Regions from separate parts of the Homo sapiens genome. Here region 2 is linked to region 1. Evidence: promoter capture Hi-C in 16 types of primary human blood cells and fetal thymus (Javierre and others, 2016). All regions are on one chromosome and are shown on one strand. Each heading gives the region's core, a stretch centred on a gene start or on the middle of the fragment in contact. The rest is flanking DNA. Distances are from core to core; before and after follow the strand shown.

The links. The method cuts DNA at HindIII sites, captures the fragments that hold promoters and counts their contacts. A CHiCAGO score of 5 or more calls a contact.
Region 2: a fragment that was not itself captured here is called in contact with the fragment with the promoter of PCGF1 in region 1 in 2 of 17 cell types (naive B cells and total B cells); the score reaches 5.7 in naive B cells.

Annotation. Positions count from the first base shown.
Region 1 is chr2:74,504,289-74,510,600 of GRCh38, forward strand. It overlaps PCGF1 (polycomb group ring finger 1), which reads right to left and starts at 3,407. Exons shown (of 9, transcript NM_032673.3): 1 at 3,288-3,407; 2 at 2,754-2,859; 3 at 2,444-2,596; 4 at 1,893-1,964; 5 at 1,664-1,769; 6 at 1,449-1,482; 7 at 1,264-1,350; 8 at 1,051-1,131; 9 at 755-902. The coding sequence starts at 3,380. The coding sequence ends at 855. LBX2-AS1 (LBX2 antisense RNA 1) reads left to right here. Exons shown (of 2, transcript NR_152616.1): 2 at 1-777. RefSeq lists enhancers at 2,670-3,600, 3,237-3,416, 4,157-4,216. The HindIII fragment of the contact is 5,812 bases long and covers 1-5,352 here.
Region 2 is chr2:74,612,071-74,618,903 of GRCh38, forward strand. M1AP (meiosis 1 associated protein) reads right to left here. Exons shown (of 11, transcript NM_001321739.2): 3 at 2,894-3,079. It also overlaps the pseudogene TOR1BP1. Among named protein-coding and RNA genes, the nearest start is that of M1AP, 33 kb to the right of the region's middle. The HindIII fragment of the contact is 1,812 bases long and covers 3,469-5,280 here.

The sequences.
Region 1 (6,312 bases), core at 2,157-4,656:
CTACCTTCAGGAATTCTTTGCTTTGGCTTCTGTCTGTTCCTGTCTGTTGGGCAAGTTTCTAGCTACCCCACTGAGAGAACCATAGAACAAGGACCCTGGCATGGCATACAGACAAGGAATGTTTGCTGAATTAATGGAGCTGGTGCCTTGCAGCTTCCCTTTTGTTCCTTGAAGTTGCCCTTGCTCTCCTCCACATCAGCTCCCTCTCCTCCTCAGCTACTTATTCCCCACCCTGGCTTCTTCTAGTCGCAGTCCCCAAGTACTTGCTGAATCCTGTATGGACAGCCTAAGCCTCCATTTCTGACAATTCCTGTGGCCCCACTCCATTTGTTTTTTAGACTTCTCCCTCCTTTTTGTCCCCATCCCCCAAGTTATAAAACTATAATGCAATTCTTTGGATTTTTCTTTAAAAAATCACACTTGTTCAATCCTGCAGCAGCCACTGTCCAACTCTAGCCTTCTCACCACCGCTGAATTAGGAAACCTCCTAAGAGGCCCGCACCCGCACTGTATGCTGCAGCATACAAAGACAGCTGAGAGCTCCCCTCCAGGAAACCTTCCCATCACCAAAAAGAGTGGTGTGGGAGGCCTGGTTTCACACATATAGGGATCCTCTACCCTTCTCCTTTGGCAAGACATTGAGGGCCCATGGCCATAGAGGACAGGCCCTTCTTCACAATGAAACTCAGAGGATTTTTGAAGAAGGCAGGACACAGCATGAGTGTGAGGCAGGAAGAATAAGGCAGAAGAGAGGTGCTTTTTAAAAGTTTTTATTTCAAAAAATAAAGCTGCAGTTCATTTCACATAAATATCTGGGGAGGGAAGGGGAGTGGGATGGGGTGGGGGCTTGGCCCCTACCTCCTCTTCTCTTTCACACTGTATTGTAAAAGCAAAGGGGATGGCTAAGGAGAGAATGAGGAAGTAGTAGTCAGTGGGGAATGTTCTTATATTATTCAAAGGGCCCCTCAGCCCACCCTTCCCCTGAGGACTGTAGGATGGTTGGGGGGAGTCTGAAGGGGGTGTGATCCCAGGGAGGGTGGCCTGGCTTACCTTGCCGAACCAGCGGGAGAGCCATATCTGCTTCATTGTCATGTGATCAGGGAGAACTTCATTGTCAAAAAGGAGCTGCACCTAGGAGGGAGATGGGGGCATAATTTTAGGAACTTTCTGGCAGGTCAAAAACTACCCTGGTCCACCCTAGACTCTGTCCCTCCTTTCTTAGCCCCTTCTCCCCCTCAAGAAACCTACTGTGGGACTACTCACATGCTGAGGGTTTAGCATCAAGCGGTGACACAGGACCCTCCGGAGATGGCGTACCTCAGCTCTAACAGAACATCGGACATACTTGTTCTGGGAGCAGGGAGGGGAGGGAAGAGGGCAAGGTGTGTGAGGGAAGGACCATGGGAGGTGAGTCTCCTTAGAGAGGCCCTCCCCTCAGCCCTTCTCACCTGCAGGACGCTTTTATTCTTGTCTTTGCCAGAACTGGGGGGAAATAGACACAGGTTAGGGAATCCTATCTTTCCTCCTCTTCCCCACCCAGAGCCATGATATACTCTCTTCAAGGGGATAGGCACTCACTCACTGCTCAGCCTCTCCCCTAGACCCTCCCTGGCTCTGGGTCATTGGCACTGTCACCTCCTGCAACCCCTGACCTTCTCCTCACCTCAGCCGCTCCAGGCACAGGTTCAACTGCTCATCATAGCGATAGTAGTGGGCTTTAGAGTGGTCAAAGCTGCTGAAGGGGAGGCCGAGGTTGCTCAGTGCTGGCTCTGAGAAAGATAGGGTAGTGAGGTGGCTGGTGGCACACATTCCATACTCCTCTTTCCCCAGAGAGCAAAACTGGGCAAGAAGAATGCTCTGGGGTCTTTACTGTCCCGCGGCCAAGGACATACCTTCCCCAGTGGGCTGGGTGACCCGGTCCAAACCTCGGGACTGGTAGAATTCCCGAATCCGTTTCTCTTCACCTAGAAGAAGGTGAAGTATGAGAATAAAGTATTAGCCCTTCGGGGCCGGGCGCGGTGGCTCACGCCTGTAATCCCAGCACTTTGGGAGGCAGAGGTGGGCAGATCATGAAGTCAGGAGATTGAGGCCATCCTGGCTAACATGGTGAAACCCCGTCTCTACTAAAAAATATAAAAAATTAGCTGGGCATGGTGGTGGGCGCCTGTAGTCCCAGCTACTCAGGAGGCTGAGGCAGGAGAATGGCATGAATCCAGGAGGTGGAGCTTGCAGTGAGCTGAGATTGCGCCACTGCACTCCAGCCTGGGCAAGACTCCGTCTCAAAAAAAGAAAAAAAAGAATAAAGTATTAGCCCTTCCTCACTTTTTGTCCTTCCCTCATCTTTGGCCTTCTGCCTACGTGAGTCCTACCAAACCCGTCACCTCAAGCTGCCACTCAGCAATTAGTCCTCAAGAGGCCCCTCAAAGTCAGGTTGGTGACTCACTGTCTTGCAAGCCAGGCACCAGCTTATACACGATGTCCTGCATGACCCGGTCCAGTTTGAGGTTGAGCAGTGGCTGTGTCTCGTGGATCTTAATGTTGCACATGGGGCAGTACTTGCTAGTTTGGAGGTACTTCACAATACAACTCTTGCAGACTGCAGGAAAAGAAAAGCAGATTCTCAGGCCCTCTGGAAACTGGATTCATGGGCTGGGTGGGGTGCCTGGATGCGTGAGGCAGGCCGCACAGAAGCTGGCAGTCAGCTTGGTGAAGACTAGGGACTGGAAGAACTAGGCAGTCTCCAAGGCACTCACAAGTATGAAGACACTCTGTGATGGTGGTGGCATCCACGAAGTAGCCGGCGCATAGGCAGCAAACAATGTGTTCATTCAAGTCTTTGATCTTCACTCGAACCTCCTCCTGAAGATACACCCTCCGTCACCAATCATCCACCCTCAAACCCCAACCCGTGCGCCTTCCCACCTTGGGGGTCGCCTCCTTCATCACACTAGACGGCCAAGCCCCGCGCCCTGCGCCATCAGCCGGGGATTAGCTCCTGGGGGCTGGCACTCCCCCTCCGCCCAGCAGAGGGCTCCGCGCACAGCGGGGGCTTCCCTCACGTGGACTCGCCTGACCCTCCTTTCCCAGGGGAGACTACACAACGTCGGCGACACAACGCGCAGGCGTCCTAACCGGAGTTTGGCAACCCGATCGCAACCACGCAGGCGCACTGGGCACTCTGTCTCTGCGCAGGCGCACTGGGCGCCCGGCCAGCCACCGCCCGTCCTTTAGCCCGCCCCAATTCGCACCGCTGGCCGACCACAGCAGTAACCCTGCCGCCCTTGCACCTCGTTCCGTAGCGGGTCCATCTTGTACACTGACTGGAGCTGGTTCCGAAGCCTCATCGCGATCGCAATCTGGCCCCCCTGAGGAGACGCCATCTTAAAGGCTGATCCCAGCCGGCCACTTCCGGTGCCGCCTGCAGGGCGGGACTTGTCTCCCAGCAACGAGGTTCTAGGTCTTTTCGGATTCGCTCACCCTCTGTAAGGCCCCGCCCACGTCCCTTTCTCCCTGTGTGCTCACCTGAGCCCCACCGGCCCCTCCCCTGCTCAATCCGTAATTAAGGAGTGGGGGGGGGGGAGCACAGGGAAGGGTCTTATCTCTTCAACCTCCTGTAGAAATCATCATAATAGGCCCTACGCGACCTCAAGACTAACTTTCGGAGCCTGCGAAAGACTGCCCCCTCCTACCCCCAAAGGCCTGGCAGTCTGTGCCCGCTACCCGCTCAGGGTCGTCGGTCTTCTGTGACGACGACCCTGCTGAAGAAGCCCCTCCTGGGTCCTCTCCTCGTAATGCCGCCCTGTCGGCGTCCGCGTAGCGGAGCTTCGTCCAGATGGCGGGTCTTCTCCCGGCTTCACGGAGGGAGTTTCTTGGGCTTTGCAGAGTCTCGGAGAGGGTGCCGGGGGATGGGGAGTGAGAGACCCCCAGGGACTTGGTAGTGATCTTATTCCCCCATTCTCCCCCCTGCTGCCGGGGATGGGGGGGGCAGGCCCTGGTTAATGATGATGATTTAATCATCGGCGCCTGCGGAGGCCTGGGACAGACTAATGCAGAGCAGATGCCGAAGGAGGAGGGGAGGACGACTAGGACACTGCCACACACAGACAGGCTTAGGCAGCGAGCGCCTGTAGTAGCATAGGCCCAGTCCCGCACTTGGGGACTACGCGGGGTGCTCGCTCGAGAGCTCTACACCGCCGGCTCTGGGTACTTAAAAAGGGATAAATTTGCTATGAGGTATTAACATCAAATGCAACTGGAGATACGAGAAGGGAGAGATTCCAATGGAGACCTCAAAAAAGGCTTTCTGGAGAAAGTGGGACTTTGGGCACAATTTAGACTTGGGGGAGGGGGTGGAAGTGTGGTGAAATAGAAAGGACGTGGAGGGGAATGACCAGAGGACAGGAAGGTCAAGATGTAGATTTGAGAGTGGTAATAGAAAAAGCAGGGCCATAAAGAGTTGCGATTTTTAGCCTGAGGGCAATTGGGAGCTAGCGGACTTTTTTGAAGGGAGGTTATCCTGTGAAAGCGACATTTTTGTTCATTTCTCTTCAGAGTGAATTGAAGTGAATATGCAGCAAGAAGTTATGAGATTAGTGATTAATCAATTATTCGTTACAGCCCCTGTTTACCTACTTCCCTGGTCCGAGCCACTATCATCTGTCCTCTGTAGTGGCCTCTTGACTGTTTTCCTTGAGTCCCCCTTCGCCTGTTCTCAACATCACAGTTGAGTGCTGTTTCTCAGAGCTAGTGATTCTGATAAAACATGAAACACAAAGGACAAAGGACAATTTTTGAGATGTGGATATGTTTATTATTTTTATGGTGATGATGGTATCATGGGTATATACATATGTCAAAACTTATCAAATTGTACACTTCAAATATTTGCAGTTTATATGTCCATTATACTTCAAGAAAGCTATTAAAAATAAAGTTGAAAAATTAGGTTGTTCCTTTTTTACGTTTAAAACCTGTTGAGAGCTTCCCTTTTCAATCAGAATGAAAGTCAAAGTCTCAGAGTGGTGTGCAAGGGCCTGCATAGTCTCTTCAGATACACCAGGATATCCTTCCACTGTGTCCCCAACTTGAAATGCTTAGGTATCCAAAATGGCTCCCTCCTTCTTTCAGGTCTTTACTCATGAGGCTGCTGTAATCACTCTAGATGAATAACAACTCACCCACCCTTTCACTTCCTTGCTCTTTTTTTTCTGGTTAGCACTTATTAGCATTCTATCATTTATTATTATTTAATATACATTTCTAATATATATTATATTTTCTAGTTATTTTCAGAAAATATTTTCTAGAAAACATATTTCCTAGTTTTTCATCTGCCTTTTCCACTAGACTATAAGCTTCTCAGTGGCAAGGATTTTTTTTCCTCTGTTGTGTTCACAGATATAGCTCCAGTGCCAGGTGCATAGTTGGTGTTCAATAAAACTTTTCTGGATGAATACATGAATGAATCCAAGTGGTGGTGATGACAGCCTCGATTAGGGTTTTAGCAATGGCAATGGAAAGGAAGGGCTGTATCTGAAACAGTTCAAAGGAAAGTATAATAGGAGGAAGTAGCCAGGAACCTGGCTTGGTAGGCCTGGGTAAGAGGGTGAATGAAGAGCTTTGGAGGGAAGCATGTCCTCCAGCCTGCTGGACTTAAGGTGGCTGCAGGGAAGCAGGGGGAGCTTGTCAGAAGGCTAGGAGAGTGAGCGGTGGGGCTGGAGTGTCAGAACAAGGGATGGAGGTCTCAGAGTTATCTGGCTGGATATGAGAGTTGGGACTTTTGGAATGGGTGAAACTTGAGCAGATGAAGAGATAAAGAAAGCTTAAGGCCTGGTGCAGTGGCTAATGCCTGTAATTCCAGCACTTTGGGAGGCTGAGGCAGGTGGATACTTGAGCCCAGGAGTTGGAGACCAGCCTGGGCAACATGGTGGGACTCCGTCACTACAAAAAGTACAAAAATTAGCCTGGCATGGTGGCGCATACCTGTAGTCCCAGCTACTTGGGAGGCTGAGTTAGGAAGATTGCTCGAGCCTGGGAGGTTGAGGCAGCAGTGAACCGTGATAATGCTACTGCACTCCAGCCTGAGCGACAGAGTGAGATCCCATGTCTTAAAAAAAAAAAAAAAAGAAAAGAAAAAAGAAAGCTTAAGTCTGAGCTCTGAAGAATCCTCACAGTCTTCAGTGGAAGAAGGAAAATCAGTGGAGGAAAAACATAAGCAGTGACTACGAAAGTCCAAAGATGTGGAATAAGATATTACAGAAGCAAAAAGAAGGGACACTTCAAAAAATAATTGATGACCAACAAAGTAAAACA
Region 2 (6,833 bases), core at 3,125-5,624, 110 kb after region 1:
TTTTTAGTAGAGATGGGGTTTCACCGTGTCCAGGATGGTCTCGATCGCCTGACCTCGTGATCTACCCGCCTGGGCCTCCCAAAGTGCTGGGATTACAGGTGTGAGCCACTGCGCCCGGCCACCAGTTCTTTTTTCATTGAACTTTTATGTTTTTGTTTGTTTTTAAGAGACAAGGTCTTGCTCTGTCACCCAGGCTGCAATGCAGTGGTGTGATCATAGCTCACTGCAGCCTCAAACTCCTGGGCTCAAGCAATCTTTCCACCTCGGCCTCCCAAAGTAGCTAGGACTACAGGTATGTGCACCACACCTGGGTAATTTAAAAAATTTTTTGTAGAGATGGGATCTCACTATGTTACCAAGGCTGGTCTCAAACTCCTGGCCTCAAGCAATCCTCCTGCCGTAGCTTCCCAAAGTGTTGTACTATTTTAAGTCTCTATTTCTTTTATTTTTATTCTGATCATTACTATTTTTTTTCCTTCTAGTAATTTTGGGTTTAGTCTATTCTTGTTCTTCTAGTTCCTTGAGGTGCAATGCTAGGTTGTTTATTTGATATCTTTCTTCTTTTTTGATGTAGGCGTTTATTGCTATAAACTTCCCTCTTTTGCTCTATCTCATAAGTTTTGGTATATTGTATATCCATTTTCATTTGACTCAAGATTTTAAACTTCATTTTTAATTTCTCCATTGACCCACTGGTTGTTCAGGAGCATGTGGTTTAATGGTGTTCTCTGAGCTTCCTGGATCTGTGGGTTGGTGTCTGACTTTAAGAAATTCTCAGTCATTATTATTCAAATGTTTCTTCTGTTTCTTTCTTTCTTTTCCTTCTGGTATTCCCGTTACATGTAAGTCGTACCTTTTATAGTTGTCCCACAGTTCTTGAATATTCTGCTCTGGGTTTTTTTTCCAGTTTTTTTTTCTCTTTGCTTTTTCAGATTTGAACATTTCTATTGATACATCCTCAAACTCAAAGATTCTTTCTTCAGCCATAGGTCTACAAATAAGCCCATCACAGACATTCTTCACATCTATTACAATGTTTTTGATCTCTAGCACCTTTTTTTATTTTTTCTTAGGATTTCCATCTTTCTGCTTACATTGCCCATATGTTCTTTCATTCCGTCTGCTTTATCCATTAGAGCCCTTAGCATATTAATCATAGTTGCTTTAAATTCTGTGGTCTGAGAATTCCAGTGTCTCTGCCATGTCTAATTCTGATGCTTGCTGTCTCTTCAAACTGTGTTTTTTTGTCTTTTAGTACGCTTTTCATAGTTGTACATGATGTTCCAGGCTAAAGGAACTGCTATAAGCAGGCCTTTAGTAATGTGTGGTAAGGGATAGAGGGAGGGGAAGTATGATTAGGTCTCAGTCTTTTAGTGAACTTATGCCTCTGGACTGTGAACTTTACAAGTGTTCCTCAGTTTTTTCTCTCCCTACTTAGGTGGGACAGGATGGCTAGAGTGGGCTGAAGTTGAGTATTCCTTTCTGCTACATTGAAGGATACAGCTGGCTGGAGTTTGGTATTTCCCTTCTTCCAGGTCATTTAGACTCTGATAAAATCCCAGGAGGTTAAGGGTTAGGTTCTGTTTAACTAGTTTCTCCTGAGTAACTACCTGTTAGGGTAGTTTCATTATACCTGTTAATAACAGAGTGCTCTGGTATATTTCAAAATGGTTCATTTTTCCTTCTCCCTGTCAGAGGCATGAGGGAATTTTCCCCCGATGTTTACAAGAGGACTTGGTTGAGCTCCTGGAGGTAAAACTCACAAAAGTGTGGAGTGGTATGATCATAGCTCAGTGCAACTTTGAACTCTTGGGCTCAAGCCATCTTCCTGCCCCAGCCTCTCAAGTAGCTAGGACTATAGGTGCACACCACCAAGCCTGGCTAATCTTTATTTTCTGTGGAGATGGAGTCTTGCTATGCTGTCCAGGCTGCTCTTGAACTCCTGGCCTCAAGGTGATCTTCCTGCCTTGGCCTCTCAAAGTGCTGGGATTACAGGTGTGAGCCACAATGCTCATCCTCTCCTAGAATTTTAGACATGTCTACACCTAGCCTGTAGCAATGTCAATGACAGTTTCCTACTCTAGCACTGGTTCCTGTGGAGGTTTCTGTTCCAGTATGTTGTGATTCTCTGTATTTGCCTGGTTGTCTCTCCCATTTTGGATGCAACAGTTTGCCCTGTGACCTCACTTCTCAGGGATCTAAAAAATATTGTTGATTTTTTAGTTTGTTAAGCTTTTTACTAGTTGTTAGGATGGAGTGGCAACTTCCAAGCTCCTTACATGAAGAATTGGAAACCAGCAATCCCACACGATTATTTTTTGTCCTGTCTGTTTGATCCCTGAGGTTACAAGAGACCGAAACTGTCTTAACTCACACTTACTCATGTACCCAATGGAGTATCCAGCCATGCCCTTATTTATATTTTTAAGATTGGCTCAGTCTGGCACTCTTGTATTTGCACACTTGCTAATCCCGAGAAAAGTTCCTCAATTTGATGCCAAGATTTGATTAAAAACAACTGTAAATTCCTAAGAGTACCAAGGTAAATATAAATACAGCTACCAATGTAGGCAGTTTAACATTTTCTTTACAACTTCCAAAAATCCAGAGGCAGATGGCATATTCAGATTTTATTTTTATTTCAGTTTTTCCTCATAATTCACTTCAGTCTGTATTTTTAGAGCTCTTCTCTATAACTATCTCTACATTAAGAACTGTACAGGTTATAGGAAGAAGAGAAACATGTCCTCTGCCTGTAGGGAGCTGAAAATCTTGCTTTGAATATTACATCTAGAGTGAATGAAAGATAGAACAATGTAAAGATGATAAACAATGACCTATATGGACTGAAATCGGAACACAGCTTGGAGTCCTAAAGGCCAGCATCACTTACCTCCAGGGAGGTATAGGTCAGAGCTGCCCTTGTGGTCACATGTCTGCTGTATTGTTTGAATTGCTGGAGCCCATCCTCTACTGCCAGCCGCAGAGAAGCACCTTGTGATCTGAAACACCCTTCTCTCTGTAACATGCGGAGTTCTGAGATGCAGGTCTGCAACCTAGCAAAGTTCCCTTTCACTTGCTGCAGAGAAAAACGAATCAAAGACACAAGTCTTTAGGGACCAGGTTTCAGATTAATTGGCAGTCTAAATTTATTATAAATAATTCCTCAGAAGTTCCTTCCCTTCCTGAAAATTTATTTGACCAACATCTACTGAATTCCTATTGTGTTCTAGCCACTGCACCAAAATCTTCCCTACACTAGCAGAAGGAAAATTTGCAGCCATAAAGGTTTTGATTACTTAGAGTTACCAGAAACATGAAAGGAAGTGTTTTAACTCATTCACTCACACAAAGGGAAATCCAGTTGTGTGACTGCTTAGTTTTACTTTGGGGTGACCTGCAAACTGGAGGCCAGACAGTGTTCACCTTAGACATCATCTTCATTTCTTAGTCAGTCTAGGCACCAAAAGCTTCTCTACTTAAAAATGAGGTTTTCCCAGAAGTGAGAATTTTGATGTGGTTGATCACTTCAGAATTCATACGTCCTATCTAATACGCTCTTTAGGATAACTTCAGTAAAGAAGAGATATTTGGGTTAGTCTGCAGTCAGCTTAAGGAGCCAACATGTTAAACCGAGACAAGCGACCTTTTGGTTCTCCTCATCTACCTTTATAAAAACTTGCTCTTAGGAGTCAACTAATTTAATCTGATACTAGGTCAATGTTACTTCTCCTAAGGATATATGCATTTTGATAAATGTGGACTGAAGATTTGTGACATCATTTGAAGGGATTCCATGCATCAATAGCAGGTGGGGGGTGGGGAAGAATTATATTTTGGGATGGGGACACCTTCCTGACCATAGAGCAGAACTGAGTGATATCTGTAATGCACATAAAATCCATGAGCATGAGCTGTAAACCTGCCAGAATACAAAGACTGCTTAAGTCAACACCTTCCTGGGCTTAGCTCCACAGTTGATATATTCTTCTCTCCCCAAGTCTTTGGGGTGAAAACACAAGGAATTGCATATAATTCTTACACAAAGAAAACTTGTAATCTAGAAAGGAAAATAAGAAAACTATCCGAGAAAGAAATTAGAAGAAATCACACCACAGGTGTAGCCTAGTAGGCTTTAAGCATTTCTTCTCATGTACCCACTAAAAGAATCTGAGAAACAATGTACCCCCTTATGCATTTTTAAGTGAACATCTATATTTTAAAATTCCAACTTTATAAGTGGTTGCTAACGATGTAACTTCCTGCATATTTTAAATATCAACATTTAAAAATAAAACTATAATATAACTCTTCAAAACAGTCCAATTGAATCTAAATGCCATGGTGATTTGATACTCACCATTATTCAGTGTTAAAAGTACATGAACAAGCTCTTTTTTTCCCAAGAGATAGAAATTTAGATTGTTCCTTTTTCTCCTTGAACTCATATTTCCATTTCACTTTCCCTGAGAGTTTTATCATAATGTAAAAGAATTTTTATGCTTGGCAACCTTTTATTGATCATCCCATCATACTTCTCTGCATCTAAAACAGCTATATTTTGCAAGAGTTCTAAGTTTCCTATGAGCATAGGCTCTAAGGGGCACTCTAGATTGAGTTATTATTAGAATTATCATTCATATACAATTTATTAAAACAACATGTATATACAAATTTTGAGAAATAATTATTGGCATTAAGCATAGCTTTAATTGGAAATGTTTCTCTTAATAATTGGAAATATTCCTCTTAATGGCATGGACAAGCTGGGCTCTTCTTTCAATTAGCTCAGGTTTGTGTGAATAAATAAAATAATTACTGATCGAATGACACAACATTCAGTATCAATTTTTATTCCTATTTTATTTATTTGGTGGCCAACATGGGTTGAGTTTATTGCATCATTATAAACAGAGAAAAATCTTGTTTTCTCTTGACCAGATACCCAAAAGGCTATAAAAGAAATGTAACTTAACTCCAATTTGAGAATATGTACTAAAAATTTTAAGCCTCACCTTGGTATTTTAAAAGACTAAATGTGATACCCTACAAGGCATTTTGATGTCACAAATTCATTCTATTACATTTTATATACAAAAATGCTACACCATTGTTCTAATTATGTGTCTGCAGTTGTACTACAACTATAGGACAGACACAGAATGATTCAAAATAGCTGGAATCTAAGCCTTACTTCTCAGTGATCAGGGCAGTCCAGCCTGGTGATGTCATATAGGGTGTCATTAGATGACACCCAGAACCAGCCACAACTTCGGACTAAGCTTGTTTGTGTCTACAATTGTGATGACATATTACTATGGATTTAACAATAAAAATTCCAAGCTAACGCAGGAACAGAAAACCAAATACTGCATGTTCTGACTTATAAGTGCGAGCTAAATGATGAGAACACATGGACACATAAAAAGGGACAACACACACTGGGGCCTGTCAGAGGGTGGAGTGTGGGAGGAGGGAGAGGATCAGAAAAAATAACTAATGGGTAGTAGGCTTAATACCTGGATGATGAAATAATCTGTACAACAAACCCCCATGACACAAGTTTACTTATGTACCTGCACATGCACCCTTGAACTTAAAATAAAAGTTAAAAAAATTCATACCATTTGTTTTAAGAGTGTCTGGGAAAAAATAAGCAATTATTCCATTTTGTGCCCTTCTCATGTTTTAAAATAAGCAATGTTCTATATTTCTATTATCGAAGGTTCAGAAGTAAAAACATTATAATAAATATACAAATCCTTGAAAACTCTTAGCATTTCTAGTGTTTAATACTCCCACTTCTTTGGCAATGCCGAATCTGCAAACTGACTGCTTAGTCTGTGCACATGTCAACTATGGAGAATGTGCATGTCCTGTGAATTTCAAATGGTTCTCTGGAGTAAAGCAAGAGATTGACCCATATTTTAAAGGTAACAGCAAACGTTTAACCTTAGGAACCAAGGACTCAAATTTGAAGCTACAGTCTTATTCTGATTAGCTTCTATGATGATATGGTTGGGGGGAATTTAGTAGCAAGTGAAGGTCAGGAGAAGATGTGGTACAAGGAAGGCAAGTGGGTAAGTGATATCAAGTGAGAGATGGGTGAAGGAATTCCATGATCACAGATGTAATCAGCAGCCACAGCAATGGACCTGTCTGCCCTGCTCTGCAGAGACCTCAGATGGAGCTCCCACCCCACATGCAGACAGTTCACCCCAGGCCAAGAGTGCTCAGCGTGCAGGGCCATGTCCTCCCACCAGACACCACCTGTACCTGTCAAGTGCCACCAATTTAAACTGAAAATACAAGTCAGTGAACCCTCTCTGTGTGAAGAAAAAGAAACAGCAGAAGAATGTTTTTAGCAGGTGAAAACCTAATGCTCTTCAGACTGTAGCAGGGCCCTTGAACCCCTTCAGTCACAACAGTAGCTTCTGAGGTGTGGGTGTTGTGGGTCAGAAACAATCCTCGATCCTCAGGCCTCCCTTGCACAGCTGTTTCCAGGCACTTCTGTCAAAGTCAGCAACAATAAGTGTGAAGGGGATTTTATAGTTTATCTTTAACTGCAATTAACAGCTGGATTGATGTCATGTTGCAAAATGACAAGTGCACTTGACAGATTAGTGTCTTTTCAAAAACCAATTCTTAGAAACTTCTATATCCCGAAAGTTCACAGGTGCAAATGTGCCAAACCCCAAAGAAGTCTTCAAAATGCCTCTGAAAGGCAAGGTCCCTCGTGTGCTGAGCCTCCCAAATCCCTCTTATCCCATCTGGTTAAGAGCTCAGTGGAAATCTAGCTGTCATTGTTCAGTCTTACAGCTCTTGACTGAGTA